Regions from separate parts of the Homo sapiens genome. Here all the other regions are linked to region 3. Evidence: promoter capture Hi-C in 16 types of primary human blood cells and fetal thymus (Javierre and others, 2016). All regions are on one chromosome and are shown on one strand. The core of a region is centred on a gene start or on the middle of the fragment in contact, and the rest is flanking DNA. Distances in the headings are between cores, read along the strand shown.

The links. Contacts are between HindIII fragments. The CHiCAGO score rates a contact against its expected background, and 5 or more counts as called.
Region 1: a fragment that was not itself captured here is called in contact with the fragment with the promoter of CECR3 in region 3 in 4 of 17 cell types (M1 macrophages, M2 macrophages, M0 macrophages and 1 more); the score reaches 8.5 in M1 macrophages.
Region 2: a fragment that was not itself captured here is called in contact with the fragment with the promoter of CECR3 in region 3 in 3 of 17 cell types (M2 macrophages, activated CD4 T cells and M1 macrophages); the score reaches 7.9 in M2 macrophages.

The regions. Positions count from the first base shown.
Region 1 is chr22:17,352,647-17,357,285 of GRCh38, forward strand. It overlaps the pseudogene RN7SL843P. Among named protein-coding and RNA genes, the nearest start is that of CECR2, 14 kb to the right of the region's middle. The HindIII fragment of the contact is 5,867 bases long and covers 147-4,639 here.
Region 2 is chr22:17,387,103-17,391,692 of GRCh38, forward strand. All of the region lies in intron 1 of CECR2 (CECR2 histone acetyl-lysine reader), which reads left to right. Among named protein-coding and RNA genes, the nearest start is that of CECR2, 20 kb to the left of the region's middle. The HindIII fragment of the contact is 4,579 bases long and covers 1-3,805 here.
Region 3 is chr22:17,264,767-17,269,066 of GRCh38, forward strand. It overlaps CECR3 (cat eye syndrome chromosome region, candidate 3), which reads right to left and starts at 1,967. Exons shown (of 3, transcript NR_038398.2): 1 at 1,757-1,967. RefSeq lists an enhancer at 1-416. The HindIII fragment of the contact is 21,393 bases long and covers 1-4,250 here.

The sequences.
Region 1 (4,639 bases), core at 1,830-4,329, 89 kb after region 3:
AGTTGAGTTTCAAATGGGCACATGAGATGCGCTCACAAGGCCAGGGGACTAATTTGGGGCCTGTAACTATTAGAGACATTTCCACAGTTCCCAACCTTTGCAATAGATTGTTTCTGGAGATTTGTCTTTTCTACCATTAATTAAGAAGCTTGCTAACTCCTGTTATTTAGTCTGGCAGGGATGGGCCATTAGATCAGAGTGTTTTTATTTTTATTTATTTATTTACTACTTTTTAGAGATGAGGTCTTGCTATGTTGCCCAGGCAGAGTGCAGTGGCTATTCACAGGCAGAATGCCATTGCTGATCAGCATAGGACCTTTGACTCTTCTGTTTCTGACCTGAACCCATTCACCCCTCGTTGGGCAACCTCCTGGTTCTCTGCTCCCAGGAGGTCACCATACTGATGTTGAACCTAGTGTGAATACCCAGTTGGCATAGTGAACTATAGCCCAGAACTCCCAAGCTAAACTGATCCTCCCGCCTCAGCCCCCCATGTAGCTGAGGCCGCAGGCATGTACTATCACACCTGGCTATGTTTTTTTTTTCCGTAGAGACAGGGTCTCACTATTTTGCTCAGGCTGTTCTTGAAACCCTGGGCTCAATCAATCCTCCTGCCTCGGCCTCCCAAAGTGCTGAGATTATAGACATGAGCCACTGCAGCCAGAATATTTTTGTTGTTGTTGTCGTTTTGTTTTGTTTTTTGATTTTTTTAATTATACTTTTAAGTTCCAGGGTACAAGCGCACAACGTGCAGGTTTGTTACATATGTATACGTGTTCCATGTTGGTGTGTGCAGCCAGAATTTTTTTTTTTTTTTGAGATGGAGTCTCGCTCTGTCACCCAGGCTAGAGTGCAGTGGCGCGATCTCGGCTCACTGCCAGCTCTGCCTCCCGGGTTCATGCCATTCTCCTGCCTCAGCCTCCCGAGTAGCTGGGATTACAGGCGTCTGCCACCACACCCGGCTAAATTTTTGTATTTTTAGTAGAGATGGGGTTTCACCGTGTTAGCCAGGATGGTCCCGATCTCCTGACCTCGTGATCTGCCCACCTCGGCCTCCCAAAGTGCTGGGATTACAGGCGTGAGCCACCGCGCCCAGCGCAGCCAGAATGTTTTTAGAGGTCATCACACATTAGCTAATGTTTCTGTGGTTTAGGAGGGCACGTCAGAAGCTGTCTTCTGGACTGACTGCGATTTACCAGGAATGCCATGTTTTTTAGCATGATTAAACCTAACAGCATAATCATATCCATCTCTATGCAAGAATAACCACAGTTGTCACAGGGTGCCCCCCATCCTTTTCCTTTTTCACCAACAGGTCTCTTCCTACTAAATGTCCAAAAACCTTTTAGTTTTTCAGCCACGCAAAGACAAGAATCTCACAGACTCTGCTTCAGTTGTCGTTAATGAAGATAGAAGGTGATAGGGAAACCTGATTAACTTTAAAAATAATGAAAGTATACACATAATAGATTTGAAGTTCATAGGAATTTCTAGGTCTTCAACTCTTACAACAATGCTTAAAACATAGTAACTGTTTAGTAAATATTTATGGGGGAATAATATGAAAATTATTATTCATATTATTATTCCCCAAAATATGGGGAAAAATATGATTGGGGAAATCAAATTGGAAAACAATGTCAATCCCACAGTTGTATTCATAAAAAGGAAAATTTTTTTCTTTCCTTCTTTTTTTTTATTTTTATTTTTTGTGAGACAGAGTCTCACTCTCTCACCCCCATTGGAGTGCAGTTGTGTGATCTCACTGCAACCTCTGCCTCCTGGGTTCAATGATTCTCCTGCTTCAACCTCCTGAGTAGCTGGGATTACAGGTGCACGCCACCATGCCGGCTACTTTTTGTATTTTTAGTAGAGACAGGATTTCACCATGTTGGCCAGGCTGGTCTCAAACTCCTGGCCTCAAGTGATCTGCCCACCTCAGCCTCCCAAAGTGCTGAGATTACAGGCGTGAGCCACCGGGCCTGACCAAATTTTTTCTTTTTGGGGTAAAATAATGAGTATAGCTTATACAGACTAGGACTTTGTGTATTGTAATAAATAAGACAAATAGTTTTTACTGTAATTGGTGCAGGTAGCTTTAGGCTATATAATTATTTACTCCTCATCTTAAGTTAAAAGCAAGGGAAGTTAATTTCCATGTTCCTCTTTTTATTTTTTTTTTTTTTGAGACGGAGTCTCACTCTCTAAGCCCAGGTTAGAGTGCAGTGGCACCACTCAGTGCAACCTCTGCCTCCTGGGTTCAAGTAATTCTCCACTAAAAACACAAAAATAAGCCGAATTAGCCGGCCGTGTGGTAGGCGCCTATAATCCCAGCTACTCAGGAGGCTGAGGCAGGAGAATTGCTTGAACCCGGGAGGCGGAGGATGCAGTGAGCGGAAATCATGCCATTGCACTCCAGCCTGGGTGACAGAGTGAGACTCCATCTCAAAAAAAAATTAAAAAGATAGGCGGGACGCAGTGGCTCATGCCTGTAGTCTCAGGACTTTGGGAGGCCAAGGAGTGGATCACCTGAGGTCAGGAGTTTGAGACCAGCCTGGTCAAGACGGTGAAATCCCGTCTCTACTAATAATACAAAAATTAGCCTAGTGTGGTGGTGCATGCCTGTAATTCCAGCTACTCGGGAGGCTGAGGCAGGAGAATCAATTGAACCTGGGAGGCAGAGGTTGCAGTGAGCCGAGACTGCATTGCTCTCCAGCAACAAGAGTGAAACTCTGTCTCCAAAAATAAACATAAAAAATAAAAAAAGGGCCGGGCGCGGTGGCTCACGCCTGTAATCCCAGCACTTTGGGAGGCCGAGGCGGGTGGATCATGAGGTCAGGAGATCGAGACCATCCTGGCTAACAAGGTGAAACCCCGTCTCTACTAAAAATACAAAAAATTAGCCAGGCGCGGTGGCGGGCGCCTGTAGTCCCAGCTACTCGGGAGGCTGAGGCAGGAGAATGGCGTGAACCTGGGAAGCGGAGCTTGCAGTGAGCCGAGATTGCGCCACTGCAGTCCACAGTCCCGCCTGGGCAACAGAGCGAGACTCCGTCTCAAAAATAAATAAATAAATAAATAAAAATAAAAAAAGTGGCCAGGCGTGGTGGCTCACGCCTGTAATCCCATCACTTTGGGAGGCCGAGGCGGGTGGATCATGAGGTCAGGAGTTCATGACAATCCTGGCCAAGATGATGAAACCCCATCTCTACTAAAAATACAAAAATTAGCCGGGTGTGGTGGCAGGTGCCTGTAATCCCAGCTACTTGGGAGGCTGAGGCAGGAGAACCGCTTGAACACGGGAGGCGGAGGTGGCAGTGAGCCAAAATCGCACCACTACACTCCAGCCTGGGCAACAGAGCAAGACTCCATCTCAAAATAAAATAAAATAAAATAAAATAAAATAAAATAAAATAAAATAAAAAAAGTAAAGATAGAGATGGGGTCGCTGGGGTCTCGCTATGTTGACCAGGCTGGTCTCAAACTCCTGGCCTCAAGCGATCCTCCCATCTTGGCCTCCTAAAGTGTTGAGATTACAGGTGACAGCCACTGTGCCCGGCCCGCAGATTTTTCGTTTGTTTTTTGAGACAGACTCTCGCTCTGTTGATCAGGCTAGAGGAGTGCAGTGGCATGATCTTGGTTCACTGCAACCTCCACCTCCTGGGTTCAAATGATTCTCATGCCTCACCTTCCGGAGTAGCTGGGACTACAGACACGTGCCACCATGCCCAGTTAATTTTTTTGTACTTTTAGTAGAGACGGGGTTTTGCCATGTTGGACAGGCTGGTCTTGAACTCCTGACCCCAAGTGATCCTTTCACCTTGGTCTCCCAAAGTGCTGGGATTACAGGCATGAGCCACCACAGCGAGCCTAGAATGCCAGATCTTTTGAATGAATCCTACAAGACTGCTCTTGCCTTTTCACTATATTGCCTTCTCTACTACATATCACTTCATTATTTTTATTATTTTTCTGAGATGGAGTCTCGCTCTGTTGCTCAGGCTGGAGTGCAGTGGCACAGTCTTGGCTCACTGCAACCTCCACCTTCCGGGTTCAAGCAATTCTCCTGCCTCAGCCTCCCACGTAGCTGGGATTACAAGCACATGCCACCATGCCCAGCTAATTTTTGTATTTTTAGTAGAGACAGGGTTTCACCATATTGACCAGGCTGGTCTCAAACTTCAGACCTCAAGTAATCTGCCCTCTTCAGCCTCCCAAAGTTCTGGGATTACAGGCGTGAGCCACTGCACCCAGCCTAAATATCACTTTAAGTTTAAAAATTATTTCTAAACTAATTGCTTTTGAATTTAATAAAATCTTTATTTATTTATTTATTTATTTTTGAGATGGAGTCTCGCCCTGTGGCCCAGGCTAGAGTGCAATGGTGTGATCTGTGCTCACTGCAACCTCTGCCTCTTGGGTTCAAACGATTCTCCTGCCTCAGCCTCCCGAGTAGCTGGGACTACAGGCACCCAACACCACACCCAGCTACTTTTCGTATTTTTAGTAGAGACAGGATTTCACCATATTGGCCAGGGTGGTCTCGAACTCCTGACCTCGTGATCCGCCCGCCTCGGCCTCCCAAAGTGCTGGGATTATAGGCGTGAGCCACTGCACTGCACTCAGCCTACAATTTTATTGA
Region 2 (4,590 bases), core at 266-2,765, 120 kb after region 3:
TTTGTATACAAATAAGCTATTCAGGTATTTATGTTCTGTGTTATGTTTAATAACAGGTTCCCCATGCCAGAGGGAGTTACAGCTCAACAGAAAGCCTTCTTTTGTCTCATTTCTCCACTGGTTCTACAGAAATTTTCAGAGGTTATCTGGCAGCTGTACCTGCCCCTCCTTGCCCTTGTCAAGCAAATCTATATCTTGGCCAGTAATCTATAACACATCTCGCAAGAAAAGATGAACTGGGCCAATGAAATTTCCATTCTTGGGAGCGTAACCTAGGAAATACAAGGATTATCGAGTTAGCGTGGAAAAGAAGCTGAAAGGTCATGGTGAGCAGCCACGACACAGCCAGAATCTTACAGATGAGGAAGCAAGCCTGGGAGAGACCCAGCCATAGAGGAATTAACGAGAAGGCCCCGGCTCCAGCCTGCTGGCGTGTGTCCAGCAGGAGCCACCACACCTGAGGGAGTCTTCCATGCCCTGCCCCTCAAAGAGCCTAACACTTCCTCACTTTTGTCTGTGTGCACATAACATGTTAAGTATCTTGTAAACACAAGATCGTACTTTTCTATATGCTTCTGAATCCTGTTCTATTCTGTTGACAGTGTTATATAACAGAATGCCCTTTCAATCACAGCACGCCATGATTTCCAGTAGCTGCAGAATACTCATCGGGTAGAGGGACTCTCATTTAGCCAAGGGGCGTTTGGGTTATCTGTAGTTGTTTACTATCATGACAACCAAGAACCAGAACAATTTTTTTTTCTAAGATAGGATTAGTGTTTTTAATCATTAGACTTCTGTTAGTATTACATTCTATATTTGAGGTTTTAAGTTTTGAGTTTTTTTTTTGTTTGTTTTTTGTTTTGTCCCGAGAGGGAGTCTGTCTCTGTCGCCCAGGCTGGAGTGCAGTGGTGCCATCTGGGCTCGCTGTAACCTCTGCCTCCCAGGTTCAAGTAATTCTCCTGCTTCAGCCTCCCAAGTAGCTGGAACTACAGGCACGCTCCACCATGCCTGGCTGATGTTTATATTTTTAGTAGAGACGGGTTTCACCAAGTTGGCCAGGCTGGTCTCAAACTCCTGACCTCAGGTGATCCGCCCGCCTCAGCCTCCCAACGTGCTGGGATTACAGGCATGAGCCACCGCGCCTGGCCAAGTTTTCTTCATAGTTACTTTTTGTTTTATATTTTATCATAAAAGTTACATGAATTTTGGTGCCATGCACTGTCTCAAGTGTTTCTCATGCCCGAACTGACCCATCTGTTTAATTCCCCCATGAGGCAGGCATCACCATGACAGCACTGTAGGAAACAGGCTCAGAGTGAAGCGATTTACCCAAGGCCGCATGCCCAGCGGGTGGCAGAACCCATACCGGCAGACTTCAGGAAAATGCGGAGGCATTTTTTGGTAAATGAATTGAACAGTACTGCTAGTGAGACAGGAAAACTGACATCCAGTGCGGGTTCTTGAGAGTATATGGGAAGGTGGGTGAGATTAAATTTTAGCTAGTGTCGTGGTATTAGAAAGGAATCTTTTACGCAATTTACGGAGAACACTGAGTCAGGAGACATTTTAGAAGTGAAAGCAATTCAGTTTTTTCTTCACTTGCTTAAATTACTTACAAAATATGTTAATAACTGTTAAGAGCTCCTTTTATCATTTTTCCACTCTACTGTAACTCTGGGTTGGGTTTTTTAAAAACTTTGTTTATTTTATTTTAGTATTTTTTTTTGAGGTGGAGTCTCACTCTGTCGCCCAGGCTGGAGTGCAGTGGCACGATCTCAGCTCACTGCAGCCTCAGCCTCCGGGTTCAAGCAGTTCTCCTGCTTCAGCCTCTCGAGTAGCTGGAACTACAGGCACACTCCACCATGCCCGGATAACTTTTGTATTTTTAGTAGAGACGGGGTTTCACCATGTTGGCCAGGCTGGTCTCGAACTCCCTGAATTCAAGTGATCCACCCTCCTTGGCCTCCCAAAGTGCTGGGATTACAGGTGTGAGCCACTGCGCCCGGCCTTAAAAACTTTATTTTTAAGTAATGTCAGACTTAACGGAAACTTAGAAGGCTGGTACACAGAATTCCTAAGCTCCCTACCCAGATTCCCCACGTGTTCAGTTTTACACCATGTGCTTTACTGCCATCTCCCTCTTTCTCCCCACCAAGCTATCTTCATAGTTACTTTTTGTTTTATATTTTATCATAAAAGTTACATGAATTTTGGTACCATTCTCTTCTGTCTCCCAACTGCCTGCCTGCCTGTCCGGCTAGCTAGCTAGGCATCTCTAGCTGTGTAATTACTGTTTTTCTACACTGAGAATAAGTTGAAGACGTGATACCTTTCACTCCTTGACATTTTAGTGTTTTTATGACTTAAAAACATTGTTTTTTTCTTTTGAGGTGGGGTCTCACGCTGTGTTGCCCAGGTTGGTCTTGAACTCCTGGGCTCAAGCAATCCTTCTGACTCAGCCTCCCAAGTAGCTAGGACTACAAGCATGAGCCGCCACGCCCAGCTCGGGGATATTCTTTTTTATTTATTTATTTATTTTTGAGATGGAGTCTCACTCTGTTGCCCAGGCTGGAGTTCAGTGGCACGATCTTGGCTCACTGCAACCTCCGCCTCCTGGGTTAGAGCAGTTCTCCTGCCTCAGCCTCCCAAGTAGCTGGGACTACAGGCATGCGCCACAACGCCCGGCTAATTTTTGTGTTTTTAGTAGAGACGGGGTTTTGCCATGTTAGCCAGGCTGGTCTTGAACTCCTGACCTCAGATGATCCGCCCACCTCGGCGTCCCAAAATGCTGGGATTACAGGCATGAGCCACTGTGCCTGGCCGGAATATTCTCTTATACATATAAGTACAATTATTAAAATCAGGAACTTAATACTGAGTAAGATCTGTAGATAATAGTATATCAAATGTTGCCAATTGAGCCAATAATATATATAATTTGTACATTATTTTTATGAATTTTAAATATATTATTATTTTAGAAATTGTTTCTGGTTCAGGTTTTCAGTCTAGGATCAGGCATTCCATTAGTTGTTGAGTCTCTTTAGTCTCCTTTAAAATAGAGCCGTTTTTCAGTGTTTGTCTTTCTTGAGCTTGACCTTTTTGGAAGACTAAAAGCCATTCATTCTATTGACGGTCCCTCCACTTGGGCTTGTTGGAAGTCCTCTCAGGATAACTTGGGTCATGTGTTTTTGGCGGGAGTGCTGAAGAGGGCCGTGCCCTTGGTGCATAGTATCAGCAGTTACATCACTTTCATTGTGCCCTTTATTGGTGGTGGTTACTAACTTTGATCACTTGGTTAGGGTGATGTCTGCTTTCCACTGCAAAGTTACTGTTTTTCTCTTATAATTAACAAGTACGTTGTGGGGAGATACTTTGCAAACATCCTGTTTCTTCTCCAAATTAACCCGTTAGGAATTGCCTGAATCAGTGATTACATCACAGTTGCCAGATTCCTTTTTACAAGTTGGCGTGCAGTTTTCATCCATAAAGTTTAAGCGTTTGATTCTAAACCAGGTGTTTTTATTTTGTTTTGTTTTGTTTTGTTTTTTGAGACAGGTCTTGGTCTGTTGCCGAAAGTGGAGTGCAGTGGCACCATCATAGCTCAGCAGCCTCAACCTCGCCGGTCCCAAAGTGCTTGAATGACAGGCGTGAGCCACCACTCCTGACCCAAAACCATTTGTTTTTAATATCTGATAAAAATATAATTTATAAAAAGACTTTGATTTTTTTAACTTTGAAAATTAATCTAAAGGAGATGAACACTGATAAACAATGTTCAGAAAGTGAAATTACTTTTTAAAGCTTCAGCTTTTTAAAGCTTTTCCTATTTTATTTTGAGAATTTTCAGATGTTCGGTGAAGTTCAAAGATAAGTGAACCCCTGCGTACCCTTTACTCTAGATGTACCAATTGTTAACACTTTTGCCACATTGGCTGAACCATTTGAAAGTAAGTCGACTGTGTCATGAGAGTCTACCCCTTCATAGTTTCACATGTACATGTACTTCCTATGAATAAGGACTTTCTCTTGTATGACCACAATGTTATACTCACATTTAGGAAAATTAACAGTAATTCTGTAATAACATCCAGTAAACAGTTCACACTGAAATATCCTCAGTTGTCCCCACAGTGTCTTTTATAGATGTACCACACCTCCATCCTGGTTTACACACTGGTTGGTTGGTAGGGGAATTGTTTTTAGGCAGGCTGAAGCCAACCCAGTTATCCTAGATGTAGGGAAACCGGGAAACATTGGTAAAATGATTTAAATTTCAAGCTGCAGGGCTACTAGTGAAGTAATTACAACAGAGAGTTGATTGGAATCACTCTGGCTCCGGTCCAGGCTTTGCCCAAGGTCTGGACCTGTCACTTAGCCCTGTTGAGCCTCAGCTTGTTCATCTGCATCTTGGTTGTCTCGTGTTCCATAGGGCTGTGGTGAGGTTCGAATGAGCCAAGCATGTGAGGGCCTGGCCCAAATAGATCTCAGCAACTGGTAATTATTGTTACATTTTCTTTCATTTTAGATTTTGATTATGGTAATAATATGGAAATTATAATCATTTGGGAGAAAGGAATTAACTGA
Region 3 (4,300 bases), core at 717-3,216:
GGCCGGGCCGGGGGATCATGCCAGGCAGCCCAGCCAGAGGTGAGCTGGGTCACAGGGGTGAGCTGCCAGGCCTGCTCACCCCTCTTCTTGGTGTGATCCCCTCAAGTCCAATCCCCAGGGACCTTCCCCAGGAATGCTGAGAGCACCAGCTGTCCCGGCCATGTCAGGCATCTGGCCACCAGGTCTCCTTCCACTCCAGGGGCAACCACCGCCAGAGGGAAAAACGGAAACACCAGGTTATTTGTGATCTGCATACTCACTCCTCGTTTAGAGAGACAAGCAGGAGGCCAGGGGAATAGATGGGACTGTGGGAACAGCCAAGGGCAGAGGGTGAAGGGCGGCGATCAGAAGGAAAGACGGAATGCCCACACATTCCCTGCCGCTCCCGGCTCCAGCCGTGGAGGAAGCGGGGCTCGGAGGACATTGCACCAGACAGGTCTTGTTTAGAAAATTGGAAAAGAACAAATATTGATTACAAGAGTGCAGGAGAATGGGCCCTTCCATCATCAAAAACAGGTATTCAGCCAGGCGAAGTGACTCACGCTTGTAATCCCAGCACTTTGGGAGGCAAAGGCAGGAGGATCGCTTGGGCCCAAGAGTTTGAGACCAGCCTGGGCAGCATGGTGAAACCCAGTCTCTACAAAAAATACCAAAAATTAGCTGGGTGTGGTGACGTGTCTGTGGTCCCAGCCATTCGGGTGGCTGAGGTGGGAGGATTGCTTGGGCCCGGGAGGTCGAACCATGTTCACACCATGGCATTCCAGCCTGGATGACAGAATGAGACCCTGTTTCTAATAATAACAGTAATAATAATAATAAAATACATACTCACTAGCTATGACTCTGCTTTACAGGATAATTGGGGCAAAAATGTTCTTGGGTGAAACTGGGTAACCTAATTTGAAAGGTCTGGGAAACATGGCCCAATTTCAGCCTCGCTCGCCACTCACAGGCCAAGTGGAGGTTGCGGTTCATAACATACTGGACACTAGACATCACTAATGCCTTCATTCTACAAATGGGAAAACCATGGCTGAGAGGTCACCTGATCTCCCAAGTTCACTCAGAGACGTGGGGATGGGCCGAGCTCCAGAGCCTGGGCCTTGCCCTGCTCCACCCCATACAGCACGAAGTTCCCTGGCCAACTAAGGAAGGAGTGCAAGGTGACTGAAGAAAACAAAAACAAACAGAACTGACACAAAAAACAAACAAACAAAACTGAGTGCCAAAGAAGGAGAATTTGGGGGCTGAGGCTGTGGCTGCAGAGTGGGAGTGGGGATAATCAACGCTGGGCTCCTGAGTGTCTCTGGAAGGGCGGGCCCTGGTGTCCAGAGCGCCTGGTGCCCACCTTCCCCTTTCCCCCAGGGCCCCTGTCTGAGAGCTCTTCTACCCACTCCTGGCTGCTGGGGCACCTGATATTTTCCAAAACACAATTTTCACACCCTTAATAGTGGGCTGCGGAGGAGTCAGGATCAGAGCCTCTAGCTCAGATTTCCTTCCCTGAAAGGATACGGTCTTAGAAACTGCATGCTGTGCAGAGTCCTATCATTCAGAAGAAACACAAAACCCAAGCCCTGGGGAGTCACGTGGCCACCACGGATGCCCCGGCCTCGGACTAAGCTAAGGGCATTAGCCCGGGTGGCCTGTAGCTGCTCTGCAGCTCTGATCAGTCCTACAGACACATGGCACCCCCCACCTGTCACCTTTAGGACCCTCCAGTCAGGCCCCCTTAAGATGCAGTGTTCCCCATGCTCACCTTTGAGGCTTACTCTGCTGCTAAGGAAACAGCATGCAACTTCCCAGGGTTATGAGAAATAATTTTCCTAGGAATGTCACCAGCTGCAGACGCCCCTGTCATAAACTGTCCCAGCTCTAAGCCGCCTAGGGCTTTTATCCCCTCCTCTTAGCTACTCATTACCCAGCTTAATTAGGCCAGGAAATGCTGGCGCTGAAGACACTCTCGGCAGGAGGCAGGGCTGGAGGAGAGATTCTCAGCAGCGCCACTTCCTGAGGCTTGATCTGGGGGCTGGGGAAGGCTGTGGAGGAGGTCGGCTGGGGATGGCAGGCTGCGTCCTCCAGTGAACAGCTGCTGGGAACGAAGCAGGGATGCACGCATTTGCTCCCCAGGCCCTCCAGGGAGCTGAGGGTTGCACTTGTTTACGGTAACAGCACCGGATCTGAAGGCCTTGGAAGGCTCTGCCTGCCCCCACCCCAACCCTCCCATCTCAATTAACCAGCTTCACCACCCCACCCCCACTCTTTCCTAGGGAAGAGGTTGAAACCTCAGTTACCACTCACAATATTTCAGCCCCAACCCTGACATAATCACAGTCAAAGACCCAGCCTGAGATGCCTTCCATTTTCAGCCAGCCCCTGACCTTCACCCTGAACCACCTTGGTCATGCACAACCTCCTGGTTCTTCACTAGGTGGAACACAGGAATGGGGTTGCCTGCTATAGAGCTGTATGTGCTTCACCCAGTTTTGGAGCTTTCTGCTCCAGTGGCGTTGGAAGGGGAGTAGCAATGTTGAGGGTTCATAGAATGGGGTTTATATCAGACAGATGGGGGTCTAGACTGTAGCTCTGCCCCAGGTCATTCTGTGACCTTGAATATGCTATTTCATTTTTCTGCACCTAAGTTTCTTTAGCTGCAAAAATGGGGGTGCTAATATCGGCTTCTTGGGAGGTTGAGATGATCTTATATCCTTATAGTAGACACAGGCAAATGTTCAGTAAGAAGTGGCCGGTATCTCCGATGTGGGGCACTAGTTCAGAGGCCTGCAGTTACCAACTTTTCTTTGCTGGGAGGTATGGAAAGGGGAAAACTAGTATTAATGAGATCCCGCTATCTGTGGAAGGTATTCATACTTACACGATTTTCCTTTCATTTCCCAATTATCTGTGGAGGCTTTGAGATTTAAATGAGTAAACTGAGGCTCGGAGAGGGTAGGAGGGTGAGTCATGCCTCATGAGTGGCAGAGCAGATCATACAACAGGGCTACGGCAGATGCCCAGGGCTGCTGAGTCTGGGACTGCTTCGTGGCCTGGAAATGTCAGAATGACACCAGTCTAGGCCAGGCGCAGTGGCTCAGGTCTGTAGTCCCAGGACTTGGGGAGGCCGAGGTGGGCGGATCACTTGAGGTCAGGAGTTCGAAACCAGCCTGGCCAATATGGTGAAACCCGTCTCTACTAAAAATTCAAAAATTAGCCAGTTGTGTTGTTGGGCGCCTATAGTCCCAGTACTCAGGAGCCTGAGGCACAAGAATCGCTTGGACCCGGAAGGCAGAGGCTGCAGTGAGCTGAGATCAAACCATTGCATTCCAGCCTGGGCGTCAGAGCGAGACTTATCTCAAACAAACAAACAAACAAAAGAATCACACCAGCCTAGAGCGAGTAGGATGACTAGAATCTCAGCAGCCACAGCACCAGGTGGATCATCGCCCTGGAGAGGGGAATATGAGGGCTGAGTCACAGTGTCATCCAAAAAGGACTTGTCAGCCTCTGCAGAGGCTGCCTCTCACCTGCGGAACACGTACCCACTGTGCTGTAAGTCCTGGAGCAATTTGCTTCAGCCTTCTCAGGTGTATGGTTTTATGCCTTGGCTTTTCCATTGTGTCCACATTTTCTCAGAAAATGCAAACTTCTTGAGAAGTGACCTCATTTCCCTCACCTGCAGCAAGACAAACGTAATTCTTGGCACTCAGATATGCAATAGTGCTGTGATTTTAACTTTTCTATGTAACTGTAACTTTGAAAAGTACTCTCCCATTCCACCAAGCAAAAAAAGAAAAAAAAAAAAAAGCCCCAGGGCAGGGGTGGAGGGATTGGGGCGTAAGGGGAACCTCCAATTCCATCCAGAGGAGGGCACTAGTCCATCTGCTCAGGCCCTCCACACATCGAGGTGCTCCTAGGTCCCCAAGAAAATCTCTTGATCCACCCAAAGAATCCCAAACTACTGACCATTGGTTTCCAAGGTCCATGAGTCATGACACTCTTAGACTTACTTAGCTGGTAAGATGCTTCTCATTTGAAAAACACAAAATCAAGAAAGCTCCTGGCTGAGCAGCTAGAGGCATAAGAAACCTTGGAATCCTAAACCATCAGGGTCTCTGGCTTTGTCAGTCTCTGTTGGGATCCTAGATAAGTGAAGTCAGGGGTAAAGAAAATAAATCGGCAGCTTCCCAGGGTGCTGGAAAGGCTGTCAGGCAGAACTTCCTTCCATGTGGCTCCAGGGAGCAGAACTTGGGTAAAGCTTCAGAAAGGCCGCTGTGGGCTTCACATGCAGCTGTTCCTAACCCCT